Linked DNA regions of Homo sapiens: all the other regions are linked to region 3. The links are contacts of gene promoters, found by promoter capture Hi-C in human tissues and cell types (Jung and others, 2019). All regions are on one chromosome and are shown on one strand. Each heading gives the region's core, a stretch centred on a gene start or on the middle of the fragment in contact. The rest is flanking DNA. Distances are from core to core; before and after follow the strand shown.

Region 1 (4,604 bases), core at 1,427-3,926, 240 kb before region 3:
AAAAAAAAAAAAAAAAAAAAAAAAAGAAGAAAAGGAAAAAAAAAGCTAACTTCTGATGATCCTAACCAACCTATTTTACTGGGATTACTTTATTCAACATTACTGCCTCTACCACATAGCTTCCCTGCCACTGCTCTCTACTGTTCACCAAATGTTTGGGGTAATGCTGGTCTCTCCTGGCCAGAGAGATGGTGAATACCTGGGCTGTTCCGCACACTTCTGAGCACTCAGTAGGTACTCCCCGGTGTAATACTTGTGGCTGATGAGAAAGATTCTGAAAAAAAATAGCTGATTGCATGGAGAATGGTTCTAAACACACAAGTGTCCAACTTGGCTAAGGTGGTTAATTTTGGAACTGGGCTGAATTTGGAACTGGGCTGGGGAAGGAAGCGCATCCCTAAGGATTGAGCCACTAGAGGCCGCTCTGAGCCAGATTCTCACTAAATCATGCTATGAAGAGGAATCACATCAAAGGGAAAAGGAACGCTGCTGAGTAGCACCGGGCGTCATGGCAACACCATGGTTCCTATTTTTAAACTTAGTGAGTGAGCCCACAAAGTGTGGGTGTATGCACGTGGGGGAAGGGGACTCTGGTCTATTCCTAAAGAATATTCTTTCATGAAGTTTTGAGTTTGCAGGTGGCCAATAAACTGAGACAATGAGATTAGAGAATCAAACTAGAATCAGCTATATTGGAATGGTTCCTTTCTCCTGAACTCCACTCTCTTAGTCTCTATCAGAAAGGATCCTCCATGGCCTTGGATCAGAGGTACCAGGAAATTCGTGATGGTTTTCACTAACATTCTGAAATTCTTCGTTCCTGAAGCTCATTCTGCTAGTCTTTTAGGCAATTCACTTTATATTTCAAGAAAAATAAGTCTAAACAGCAAACTAAAAGCATCTGTGGACACTCCACTCCTTGTGAAGACAATCAGATGAATGCTATGTATTGTCCGTATTCCCGGCATCCGGCACAGGGTTCAGTACATACAGAATAGGGGGTCCACATTCCTACTGGATGTGTCACTCAGTGAATTAAGAATGAATGTAATTTTGTGAAGTGCAGAAAAGTGGGCCCCACATGTCCCGTTTCTTTCATTTCTAATAGCATTTTCTTTTTTTTTTTTTTTAACTTTTCTCCAATCTCCAGCTGAATACAAGGCTTAAACAAATCCAAATTTATCTGACCTGTCAAAAATGAATAGTGGTACTGGAGGACATTTGTAAATCATGGCAGAGGCCAAGGTCTTGTTTTGTTCTATTGCATGTCCCTGACAGTATTTTCAATGCATCTGTAATCTCCCTGAACCTTGGCAGGTTGTAGACCAGAAAGTCTCCACCCGCTTCAGTTCCAAGGATTTTTCAGGTATGCAAAGACTACAAGTTGTTGTTTTTTCCTCTATGGGTTAAAGGATTTGGGAATAGGATAAGAAAAAATAATCCTCCTTCCCATTAGGAAAAGGGAGGTATCAGCAAGATCAGAGCAAGACCAGCAAGTAGAGATGGGCACACTTCAGGACAGAGAGTGAGATGAGCAGGTTCAGTGTGGGAAGTCTTTACCATGTGTGTCCTGGATGCCACTCCCAGGCTGATTCTAGATGTGTCATGGTCTAGTCTTTAGGGCAAGAAATAGCAGAGAATCCAAGAAAGTAAACTATTTATTTATTTTATTTTATTTTATTGCGATGGAGTCTCACTCTGTGAGTGCAGTGGTGTGATCTCAGCTCACTGCAACCTCCACCTCCCGGGTTCAAGCAATTCTCTGCCTCAGCCTCCCAAGTAGCTGGGATTACAGGCATCCGCCACCACGCCCGGCTAATTTTTTTGTATTTTTAGTAGAGACAGGGTTTCACTATCTTGCCCAGGCTGTTCTTGAACTCCTGACCTCATGATCCACCCACCTTGGCCTTCCAAAGTGCTGGGATTACAGGCGTGAGCCACCGCGCCCAGACAGGAAACTCTTTATTACCAAACCACCCTGTCCCACAGGTTAATGATATGTTTATATACATGTGAGTCATTCCTAATTCACTCAACCTCTTTAGCAAAGGACATAGAAAGATGGATAACCTGGGGCAAAGTACGCCTGGAATTCATAAAAATTTGAGTTTGAAACACAAAGTAAGCAAAAGTCTTAATCTTTCTGGATCTCAGGGGGTTTGGGGTTTTTTGTTGTTGCTTTCGTTTTATTTTTTTGAGACAGGGTCTTGCTCTTTCACCCAGGCTGGAGTGCAGTGGCATGATCATGGCTCACTGCAGCCTCTATCTTCCTGGGCCCAAGTGATTCTCACCTAAGCTTCCCAGGTTGCTGGGACTACAGGTGCATGCCACCATGCCTGGCTAATTTAATATTTCTGTATTTTATAAAGACGGGGTTTTTGCCATGTTGCCCAAGCTGGTCTCAAGTGATCTACCTGCCTCAGCCTCCCAAAGTGCTGAAATTACAGGTGTGAGCCACCTCACTCAGGCAATCTCAGTTTATCTAAAAATTGGAGGCAATCATATCCCTGTACAATACTTTTAAGCTTAAATTATGCTATATAAAGCCCTTGGCACATAGTATTCACTCAATAATCTTTTTTAAAAATAAATTTTCTAAATTGCTGAAGCTTAGTATTTTAAAGTACAGGCTTTTTCTTGATTATAGGAAGCATTTTAATGGAAAATTTCAGAAAGGCATTACAGAGTTCTCTGACTTTTTATACCTAAGATAATCGATATAATTTAAGCTCTTATTGATGACTTAACAATGACTATGCTTTTTTGCTATACAGGGATTTTTATGCAGGGTATATGCTTTCTGGGGCGTAGATGACATTTCTCCCCAAATGGTGTTATACAACTCTGCTTTTCAAGGTTTTCTGCTGGGTTTTTCTAATATCTTCCACTCTTTTCCATTCTGTTATTTATTAATGCTGTTGGTTTGCCTATCTGATCCTCATCATCATGTCTGTTATACCTAAGCTATTGTTATCTAGGAAATCATATAAACAAATATCTCAAAGTTGTCTACCAAAGATATGGCCTTGGCCCTCTCTCACTAGTTAACAGAACTTTGTTTTTTTGTTTTTGAGACAGAGTCTCGCCCTGTTGCCGAGGCTGGAGTACAGTGGCATGATCTCGGCTCACTGAAACCTCCACCTCCCAGGTTCAAGTGATTCTCTTACCCCAGCCTCTCAAGTAGCTAGGATTACAGATGTACACCACCACACCTGGTTAATTTTTGTATTTTTAGTAGAGATGGAGTTTCACCATGTTGGCCAGGCTGGTCTCAACCCCCTGACCTCCGGTAATCTGCCTGCCTCGGCCTCCCAAAGTGCTGGGATTATAGGCATGAGCCACTGTGCCCGGCTTAGAACTTTGATTTTTAACTGGGCACATTACTGCCCAGGTTAAAAACTAAACTAAGCTATATTTCCCAATTTTGCTTGTTGCTAGTGTGGCCATTGACTGATTTCCAACCAGCAGACTATAAGCAAAGTGTGGAACTTCAGGGGAATTTCCTAAACAGGGAAATGATTTACCTTCCTTCCTTTCTAACTTCAATCTGCTGCTTGAAACTGGAGTTCCAGCAGCCATCTTAGGCATGGGGATGAAGGATATACCCAGTGGATGAAAGAGTGGAAAGCTAGCAGGCATCTGAGTCCTGATGACATGCAGCTGTCATCCCAGCTCTGGACAGACCACCTAACTATGCTCACATATCTCATTTAAACTGGGTTACTGGGACTCCACACCATAGATAACCCAACTGCCCACAAGCTTCTTAGAAGTATGTGTAAAATTAGAGTAAACGTGCTTTGAGCGACACTCTGTATGACAAGAAACAGCAGTCATTTTAGGGCAAGAGTTTTGTGTCAGGGATTTTAGCTCAGAGCCCTTTTCTGCTTTCTTCATGACTGTTGGTTATGTTCTAGATACATCAGGTTGTTGAATATGTGACCTCTTGTCCTTTAGGTAAAAAAGCCAAGTCTCCATGTGAACACATGTGAGCACGTGTGACAGAAGTGAGGACAATGACCCCGTGCAGCCTGTGGAGTCCACTATTTTGAGTCATAGTCTCTAATATGCACACACATACACACACACACCTTGTCCTCTATAGTCAATAATGAGGGAAATTTGACACATTATTAAGATCTGTGTAATAGTGAACTGTAATATAATAATGCTCTATTGTGCTGTTTTGCCTAAACAAAAGTGCCTGAAAGATTTTTTTTCAAGCAGGGGAGGAAGAAAGTCAATGGGAGTGTCTGGAAATACCTCTGAGAAAACAAAAAGGAAGCAAGTATGTGAGGTTTCTCTGTTGAAGTCCGCAGCCAATCCTTGCAGTGAATAAAAGAAGCCTTCACATGTTTGTTATAATGATTTAGTGAGACGATATACAAGAAGATTATCTGTATGAAAATCCTCACTTTAATCATCATCATTATTAGCCATGATGATGAACAACGAAATTTTTGATAATTGGGTTTTTTGTCTAACACTAAATGTATTTTGACACCTACCTCCATCTGGACCCCATCTATAATCTCTTTTGGAAAATTGTGAAAAGGACCACTTACAATGAATACCATATTGTCACAGGGTGGTTTCCATGGCTA
Region 2 (4,275 bases), core at 325-2,824, 190 kb before region 3:
ACTCTGCTAAGCACTCTATGTGCATTCTCTTTTAATCATCACATCAATCTTGTGATGTAACAAATATAGCAACAGATAACAAAATAGTTATGATTACTATTTTCCATATGTAATATATGGGCAACTGAGACTCAAAATGTTAATCCGTTGTCAAATATCTACTAAGAGGCAGAGCTAAAATTTGAATCTAAGACTCTAGGAGCCAGTGTGCTGTGTTAAGTAATGTTTTCATTTGAACTTTCCATATTTATGGAAATAAACTAAACTAGGCCACAAAGTAGTTAAATGACTTGCCCAAGGTCACAGAGTCACCAGCAGTACTACATCATGAATCAAAATATTTTGATTCCCTCAATCTTATGCTAATTTTCTGCTGCCCAGGAAAGGATAATTGCTGACTGGTCTCTCCAGTAAAGCTTGAGAGTTTTGCCTTTGCCCACTTTTTCAGTAAAGAACGCCTCGACTAAACTAAGCAGGTACATTTCATTTTCTCCTACTGCTTTAATCATCCATAGTTATTCAGCAAAGGGTCCCAAGGCTAGAGGGAGAAATTAAGCCTAAAACCAAATTAAAATAATTTGGGGTTTAATTTGATTCAAATGTCAGAAAAATTCCACCCAGTAACCCTGTTAATATACAACTGAACTAAATGTCCTATATACCCAATTGTATTCAATTTTGCTGGGACCACCGATGCCTTAAACATGTTAATCTCATTCTCATTCTATCCTACTTTATGCACTTGTCTCTCAAAGAGTGCCACATAGCTGAACTTATTTGCTTTTCAAGAACTGCACGCCATTTTAATTACATAAAATGTCAACCAAGGCAGTCCTGAGTCCTGGCGGACACACTTACATACTTAAGAAAGCAGACCTGCCATTGGCCGTGGTGATCAGGGTCCGGAGGCTAGGGGCTGAGAAAGGCCTGGTGAACCAGGAATATACCAGATTTTTCCCACAGGTATCAGGGCTGAGGGGAAAAAAAAAAGGAAAAGAAAAAATCCCTGATTGAATTGAAACCCAGGTGAACCATGTAAGCTTGGAAATAGCTCTTTTACAAACTCAAAGGGGAAGAAAGGGAAACTGACACAGCTTGTTTTGCCGCTGTGCCTGTTGTCCACTCCCTTTCTTTGTCCATGCAGGCTGCGCTGCAGGTGGGGGCTGGGAGGGAGCAGGTAAAAGGGCCCGTTCAAGAGTGCCTAGTCCTCCCGGTTTGAGACTCTGCACAAAGGAGGGACAATAAATACAGGCTTCAAAGGAGAAAAAAAAAAAGTATGTAGCACGATCCACCTCCTCCAAGGAACCTTTGATAGACAGTTCTTACCTGCTGCTTTCTGTTCAGCTTCTACCTCCCAAAACCACAATTCATCTAAGAAATATCTTTTTAAAATTGTTTTTTCTTAAGGCCTATTAAAATAGGCATAACTGTTAACTAGATGAAATGCAGGATCATGTCTAACCTAGGCTAGGAGAAGTGGCCACTGAATATTATTTGAAAAGCTGTCTTAAGTCTATGAGAAGCCCCTGCATAAAAGAAGATGAACTTCAGTGGAATTCCCCAACTCTTCAGCCATTCATTGCTTATCGGACACGTATCATCAGAAAAGGTGAAGATTCTATTTCATATAGTCTAGGAGACAGAAAGGAAATGGCAAGTACAATGGGACTTGGCTGCTACCAATGGTCTGAAATAGAAAAAGTACTATTCAAATTCTAGGACTATACCTGCCAGAAACATCTGCATTATTTCAGGTGACTTAACCCCCAGCGCCTCTCCCTGTGCAATGTTATAGCTTATTAGCACTTCTGCAAAAGGGCAAGCCGTACCAGAGAACTGAAACACAAAGATTTGCCAATTCAGCTAGAAAAAGATCTCATGGGCGGAAGAAAAAAAGCAAGGAATTTAAGTGTTCAGAAAATATGCAAATTATCTAAGGATTTCATACATCCTATTATGGTCGTTTAAGCCTGTAACTAAGATTCCAATCCATGTAACAAACTCAGAGACAATTGTGAAGATACAATTTAGGCCAGTGGGAGCCATCTTTCATGGAACCTACATTTTTAAGAATAAAGATCCCAACTTCTTCATCTCACTGATTAGGCTGATCAATCCCCAATCCATAAATACATCACATTCCAAAAATTCATCCTTAAGCTAGTTATTTAGAAATCCAAAAGCATTCTCCCATTGATCCAATGTAATAAATGGGGATTGCAACCCCAGACCAGCCTGCAAATACCAACTTATCTCAAATACACCAGGAAGATTCTTCATAGCAGCCCCACGCCTCTCTGGGGCATAAGCCAATGGAGCCCTCGTGAACCTTAAGACCTTTTGGGACTGATATCCTGTCATCTCAGAGGCAAGGGAAGAGGAAGGAAGGATAAAATATCAGGTTCCATCTGAATAGCTTATGTGGCAGGTAGAGGGAGGCTCAAGTGGGAGAGGTCTAAATATATAATTTTTCTCCCAAAGTCAGGTAGATATTAGAAGAGAGATTATGTGTGATGAAGCTTTCCACTTTGTTCCAAAGAAAAGATGTTGAATTGCGGGGACAGAACTGGACTCTCAGAACATTAGAAGGGCCACTATAGGGAACACATATAGTATTCAACAGAATGGACTAAGTTTCCAGCAAATATAACCATTAAAATAACACATTTCTCTCATTTCTACTGATTATAACCATTACTGATACTGTCAATCAGAGAAAAATTATAAAAATCTAGGCATAAAGACCTTATTAATATATTCAACTCTTACCAAGCATTTGCTAGAACCATAGAATGCTTGCTCACAAGAGAGCCTTGGAAGTCAGCCACCCAACCTCGTTTTAAAAATGAGGTTACCAAGGGAAGGAAAAATTAAGTGGTTTCCTGTTACTTAGACACAGAAATCACCTGGTGCCCACTGGGAAAACAATTTCACGTGCCTCTTATATAAACTTTGGTTTCCCTTCTTTCCTTTTCGAGGAACCCTTAATTTCTGTGTATTGATGTTTCATGTGACAGTTAAACCTGCTTGCAGCCAAAATGATTGTTTTGCTGAGGGAAGGTGTTAAGTTTCAGCCCAAGCATCTCCCTTTGAACTCTGGGGACTTTGCTAGAACTATCTTTGCTGCTAGGAGAGACCACTTCCCTTTTTCTCCAAGGAAGACCTGCCTTGGCCTGAGCATCATTACCTTCCCTCTGCACTGGCTGACTGCAAGCAAGTGGAACATGAAACTGGCAATGGAGATACAAAGCTCCGGCAAATGTCGAACTCACTTAATTTGCTGACCATCCGATTAATGGCTGGTCACCACATTTCAAGTCAGCTCTAGCTAAACCTCTGGAGCTTCTTGCCAAAGGCTTCTTAAAGAGTCCTGGTTGTTGTTTTTTTTCCTATACACACTTAAAAACCTCATTAAACAAGAGAGAATGTTTTTAAAACAGTCAAATCATGTTTTATCCATAGACTTGCATGTCAGAGGTTATAAACTCTTATATTCAACAACAGCCTCTGTAGGATCCATGCCAGAGTATCAGAATAAAATGAAAAACCACTGGCAACGGTGCAATAATGGTATCCCATTAACAACTGAGATCTTAAGAGGCAATAACTGCAAAAGCATGTTACCATTAAACTAAGTGCATGTGCCTTCCACATTCCAGCAAAAAGGTTTCAGAAGATGGCTGCAGCTTAAAGGACTTGGATGAGGGAAAAGGATGTTTCTAGTTTAGGATGCCCCACTCCCCTGCATCCCCTGGGCAAGTTTTCCTTAAATCACAAGAGACCCTAAAAGGAAGACTATTTTGATGGCAAATACCCTAGTGTAAGAACTGTCAGTCCAAGATCAGTTTTTTTTTAGTCGCTCTGAATATTTGGAGAAATTATCTAAGCACTACTAGCCTTAGTTTTTTCAGCTATAAACTGGTGATAATAATTATGCTCATGTAAGAATTGTTGGAAGGATTAAGCGATTCAGGGCTATGCATCAGAGTTGGGTAAAGTGAGGAGTATAAGTAAGTGCTCAATATATGTTACTTGCTATTTTTTTAAGAAAACCTAATTAAATAGAATGTCTTGCAGAGTCCCCCATAACCACTGATATCAATTGAAATTAACTTGCTGTTACTATCACCCAGAAGTAAAATTGGGAGACACTGTGAGTGGCAGAAGCAATCTTTTGCTCCTCTAGCGTCTTTACTAAAATGTGCAAGGGCCCCAGAACATGCATGACCATAGAGGTGAGGTGAATTGGAAGTAGATTTTTACGTTACTTAGCTT
Region 3 (4,201 bases), core at 664-3,163:
CCTGCATACATCCACCCCCACTGCCCCCCAAAAGCCCAAAACCTGTTAGATGAGAGAAGAAAAAGAAAAAACATGGGAGATTTCCTTCTTTGTAATAAGCCTTTTTTCCCAAAACAGCATTATTTTCATATCTTGTGACCTTTTCTTCCAAAAAGATCCACTTGAGGGACTCGAAGAGATAGATAAAATGAGGAATCCCTACCCCAGGTGAGGAAAAAATAAAATAGAATTTGCCCTACCTTGGTTTGTAGAAGCCAAACCTCTAGACGGACAGATTAAGGGAGTGAGCATGTTGGGAATGTCCAGTCCCTTCTTCTCGCTTGCATATCCACATAAGAAAGACGAAGGATAAATGAACGGAAGATAATTTAAAATCCAATTTAGCGTAAATTTTGTTTTAATCTTGTGTCTTGAAGAGATGCAAATTCAAAAAAAAAAAGATTTAATTCAAAGGTAATTCAGGGTATGGAGAGCAGCTCACAATGCAGAATCCAGAGTAATTATTCCGTGTGCATGTGAGGTTAGTGGCTGGAATAGATTTTTAACGCTTCTTCTGGCAATTACGGTTTTTGGTTTTTGGAGCGTTAGTGGAGGAGGCTCTGTGTGGAGAAGCTGGGGGCCGGCTCCGTCCCTCGGTGGAGCATGGTCATTCCCAAAGCGTCCCCTTCCTAAGGGGGAAAAAGAGGCGGTCAGGGCTTGATTCGCGTGTCCCCCGGAGGGTGAGAAAAATGCATTCCGAAAAAGATATCAATTCGTTTTAAGGAAAGGGGGGAGGAAACCCCGCATTTCCCACAGAGTGCACACGAGAGGAATTGAAAACAGCTGGTACCGGTCTATAAATAATTCAGAAAAGGTCTGGCTATACCATTCCTGGGACAGGCACGGATGAGAGGTGGGAAAGCCAACCTGAATGGAAGAGGAGAGAGGGAGGGAGCGAGCGAAGGAGGGAAGTGGGAAGGAAGGAGGAAGGGGGGGAGAAGCGGCACCATACAGCAACACACACTCACACACACGCAGAAACACAATTCCCACTTAACTCGCCAGCGAGTGCGGCCCCCAGCCCCATCTGCATTGCTGCTGACTTGTCTCGCTCGCTCTCCCCATCGCCTCCAGCAGCAGCGCCGCCTCCCACCCCGGGCTTGTGCTGAATGGGTTCTGATTGTGCACGGGGTGCACACTGGGCATTTCTTGGAAGGGGCACACTGACGCGCGCACACACGCCCCCGACGCGCACGCGCCCCGCGCGCACTCACACTCACCCCCGCGCACACTCACCCCCGCGCACACTCACGCTGCCGCCGCGCTGAGGTGCAGCGCACGGGGCTTCACCTGCAACGTGTCGATTGGACGGATGGGCTCGGCGCGTGGGTCCGGCCCGGGGCGCCGCTGCCCTGCCCCTCTGCTAGGTGAAGGGATGAAACCCCCCAAAAGACCAGAGACAGCCCTACCCAGTCACAGCACCCCCTCCCCCACAAAAAAAAAAAACCTTTAAAAAAGCCACGTCCAAATTAGCAAGTGCCGGGTTCTGCTGGATTTCAGAGCTTTACCTCATGCCAGATTCGTTCACGATTTCACGGCTTCGACCCTTTATCTGCCTGACACCCCCAAACCCCTACATTCAAAGGAGAGACTCCAAAGCCCATCTTTACGTACCGGCTCCGAGCGCCTCCGCGGTTGCAGTCTGCGGAGAGGGGTGGCCGGTGGCTGGGAATGGAGGGTTTTCCTTTCCTGCAAAGCAGGATTAATGATCCGTCTCGGGGGTTTTGAAGTTCATGACTCTTCTTTGCAAGGCAAAAGGATATGCATTCGGACGCCAGCACTACTGGATGGTGGTGATCAAGAATCACCCTTGACGAGCACTCTCGATAGAGCGAAGCCCCGAGATTTCCTAGAGGTGAAGAAGCCGGAGGAAGTGGTTTTTGAAAGGGGGTGGGGGGAACCTTCCTTTCTCAAAAAGAGGTGGGGGGTGGAGAGGCAGGAGCCCAGATTCCAGTTGGTGAGGATCGGAGCCGGGGGAAGGGAAGCGGGCGGGGGCAGGCTGTGCAAGTCAACCGCGCGGCAGCCGGAGAGGGAGAGCAGGAGGGGAGGAGGGGAGCGTCAGAAAAATGGGTATTAATCACCGGGGACGGGGGGAGGCGCGGGGAACGCAGGTTGCCTGGTCTGGATTTGGGTCTCACACTCAAAAACGTGCCGCGCACACACACACAGACACACACACACCCCCTACCTCGCACACCCTGACTCCGGGGGGAGGAGAAACCCACGAAGCTGGGGAAGATACTGCTTCTGCTCCCAGGGGCGGGTGTGAGCGCGCGTGTCCTCTTTCTCCACACCCCCCACCCCACCCCACCCCCAAGCCCCTGCACCCCCTCACTCCTCTTGCTAAGACTCTGGCGGAGGCAGCTTCCCACGTCATGTGCTGGGGAAGTGGGGTGGTAAGGTGGATGGAAGGGGGACGGAAGGGGGAAGAAGCTTAGCCCGAGTCCGTGGCGCCTCCTCCCGGCCGCAGCGGGGAACAGCACCGACGGAGAGCGGCTGAGGGGCGAGGGGAGCTAGACAGTGCCCCCCGTGGGCGGCCCGCGGGCTGCGGAAAGCATCTCCAAGGCGGAGCTGTAGTTCGAAATTGAAGACCCTTGCTGTATTTTCCATAAATCAGCCTGTGCTTCCTACGAGCATTCTGTGTGTCGGACGCAGTCTGGGACCGGGTTCTTTCTTGCCTTCAAGGAGCTTAAGATCTATCTGAGCACACGAGGCTGACGCCTAACACAATAGAAAACAAAGCAAAGCAGGTGTCATTCGTGGCTAAATTGTATAGTATGGACCATACGCGTGCTTTTCTGGCTGCTAGTGAAGGCGGGAGGAGTTTGACATTTTTTATTAAAGTGGATCCTGTTATTTAAATGCCTTGAGAAGAGAAGATGGTGAGGCCCGTGAATAATCCCTAAAGGAAACTGGATTTCCTGGCATTTACAAACCCACCCTCTTTGAAAAGGCAAACATCCATTCATTTCTCTTCCTATTGAACTCTTTTATATTTTAATAGCCCTTATCACCACCTGTAGTATTGTTTACTTTTAACATTAATATTATTGTATATGCATCATTTTCATTCTCATCCATTGTCTTTTCAAATATCTAGAATACTACAGTGGTGGAACATTTTCATATTGGTTATATCATGGGCTTCTCACCAGCATTCCTGAGAAGCGGCCATACAAACGCACAGGAGAGAAGGCTGTGTGAGTGGATATACCTAGTGGCTTGGAACTTTAGTCTGTAGAAGCCATCAGATATGTTTTTGCTGTCCTGTAGACCAGACTACTCATACTTCTGAGCTACAGTAATTCTTCTGTTTCCTGGTTTTTCTCAGGCTTAATTTTTGAATCTAACATATTTAACACACACGAACACATAAGCATTGTGTGAAAACACAAATAGAGTGTGTTCACATGCAAATTATTCCTTCTCAGTAATGGTTTTCTATTTTTCTAAGAGTTAGAACTGATCTTTCACTACTTTGGGGAAGTGTCGAAGCACCCCAGAGTTGCTGTGCCCTCTTGATACACAACAGCCAACCCAAGCCCCTCTAATAATTTGTCTCCAGGGTTTTCAAGTTCACCTGCCTATGGGCAGGTTTGCAGTTGTTAGAACGCCGATTCCAAGAGGAGTATAGAATGCAGAAAGCAAGAACCTAATAGAGATTTCCTGAAACACTCTTCCCTGAATTTTCCAGGAAAATTACCGTTACCTGGTCCATTAGCTTCAGAATAACATCCAAGCTCACTCAAGGATCTTCATGGGTTGACCTTGAATCTACTTTTTAAATTTTTATATTTTTTATTTCTGGCTCATAGCCCACGTTCCCCTTCCTATCCTCAGTCCCTTCACCAAAATTATACTATTCTTCCCTATTTTCTTTCCTTTTCCTCCCTACCTGAACCCTGTTGCAATTCCATTCCACCCTGTTCACTTTTCCAAGTGTACAGGGAAGAATGAACGCTCATACTTCCTCCACCTAATTGAGTCCACACTCCTCTTCAGTTTCCAGCTCAAGTCCCACCTCCTCTGGGGATATTTTTCAGTCAACCAAGCCTGAATTGATTTCTGTAAAAATTGCAAGAATTTTGAAATGAGAGATGACACCTCACCACCATCCCCTCCACTCTCATTTTCTGTATTCAGCAATGTATGGAAGAGTTTG

The links. The method cuts DNA at HindIII sites, captures the fragments that hold promoters and counts their contacts. A contact is called where the count stands out against the background at its distance.
Region 1: a fragment that was not itself captured here is called in contact with the fragment with the promoter of GRIN2B in region 3 in 2 of the 25 tissues and cell types used here (H1 embryonic stem cells and dorsolateral prefrontal cortex).
Region 2: a contact is called between a fragment that was not itself captured here and the fragment with the promoter of GRIN2B in region 3, in 2 of the 25 tissues and cell types used here (dorsolateral prefrontal cortex and mesendoderm cells).

What each region holds. Positions count from the first base shown.
Region 1 is chr12:13,739,378-13,743,981 of GRCh38, forward strand. The region is part of intron 4 of GRIN2B (glutamate ionotropic receptor NMDA type subunit 2B); the gene reads right to left. Among named protein-coding and RNA genes, the nearest start is that of GRIN2B, 240 kb to the right of the region's middle. The HindIII fragment of the contact is 3,526 bases long and covers 914-4,439 here.
Region 2 is chr12:13,785,696-13,789,970 of GRCh38, forward strand. The region is part of intron 3 of GRIN2B (glutamate ionotropic receptor NMDA type subunit 2B); the gene reads right to left. Among named protein-coding and RNA genes, the nearest start is that of GRIN2B, 190 kb to the right of the region's middle. The HindIII fragment of the contact is 4,112 bases long and covers 1-3,630 here.
Region 3 is chr12:13,979,689-13,983,889 of GRCh38, forward strand. It overlaps GRIN2B (glutamate ionotropic receptor NMDA type subunit 2B), which reads right to left and starts at 1,914. Exons shown (of 14, transcript NM_000834.5): 1 at 1,654-1,914; 2 at 240-668. The HindIII fragment of the contact is 12,156 bases long and covers 1-4,201 here.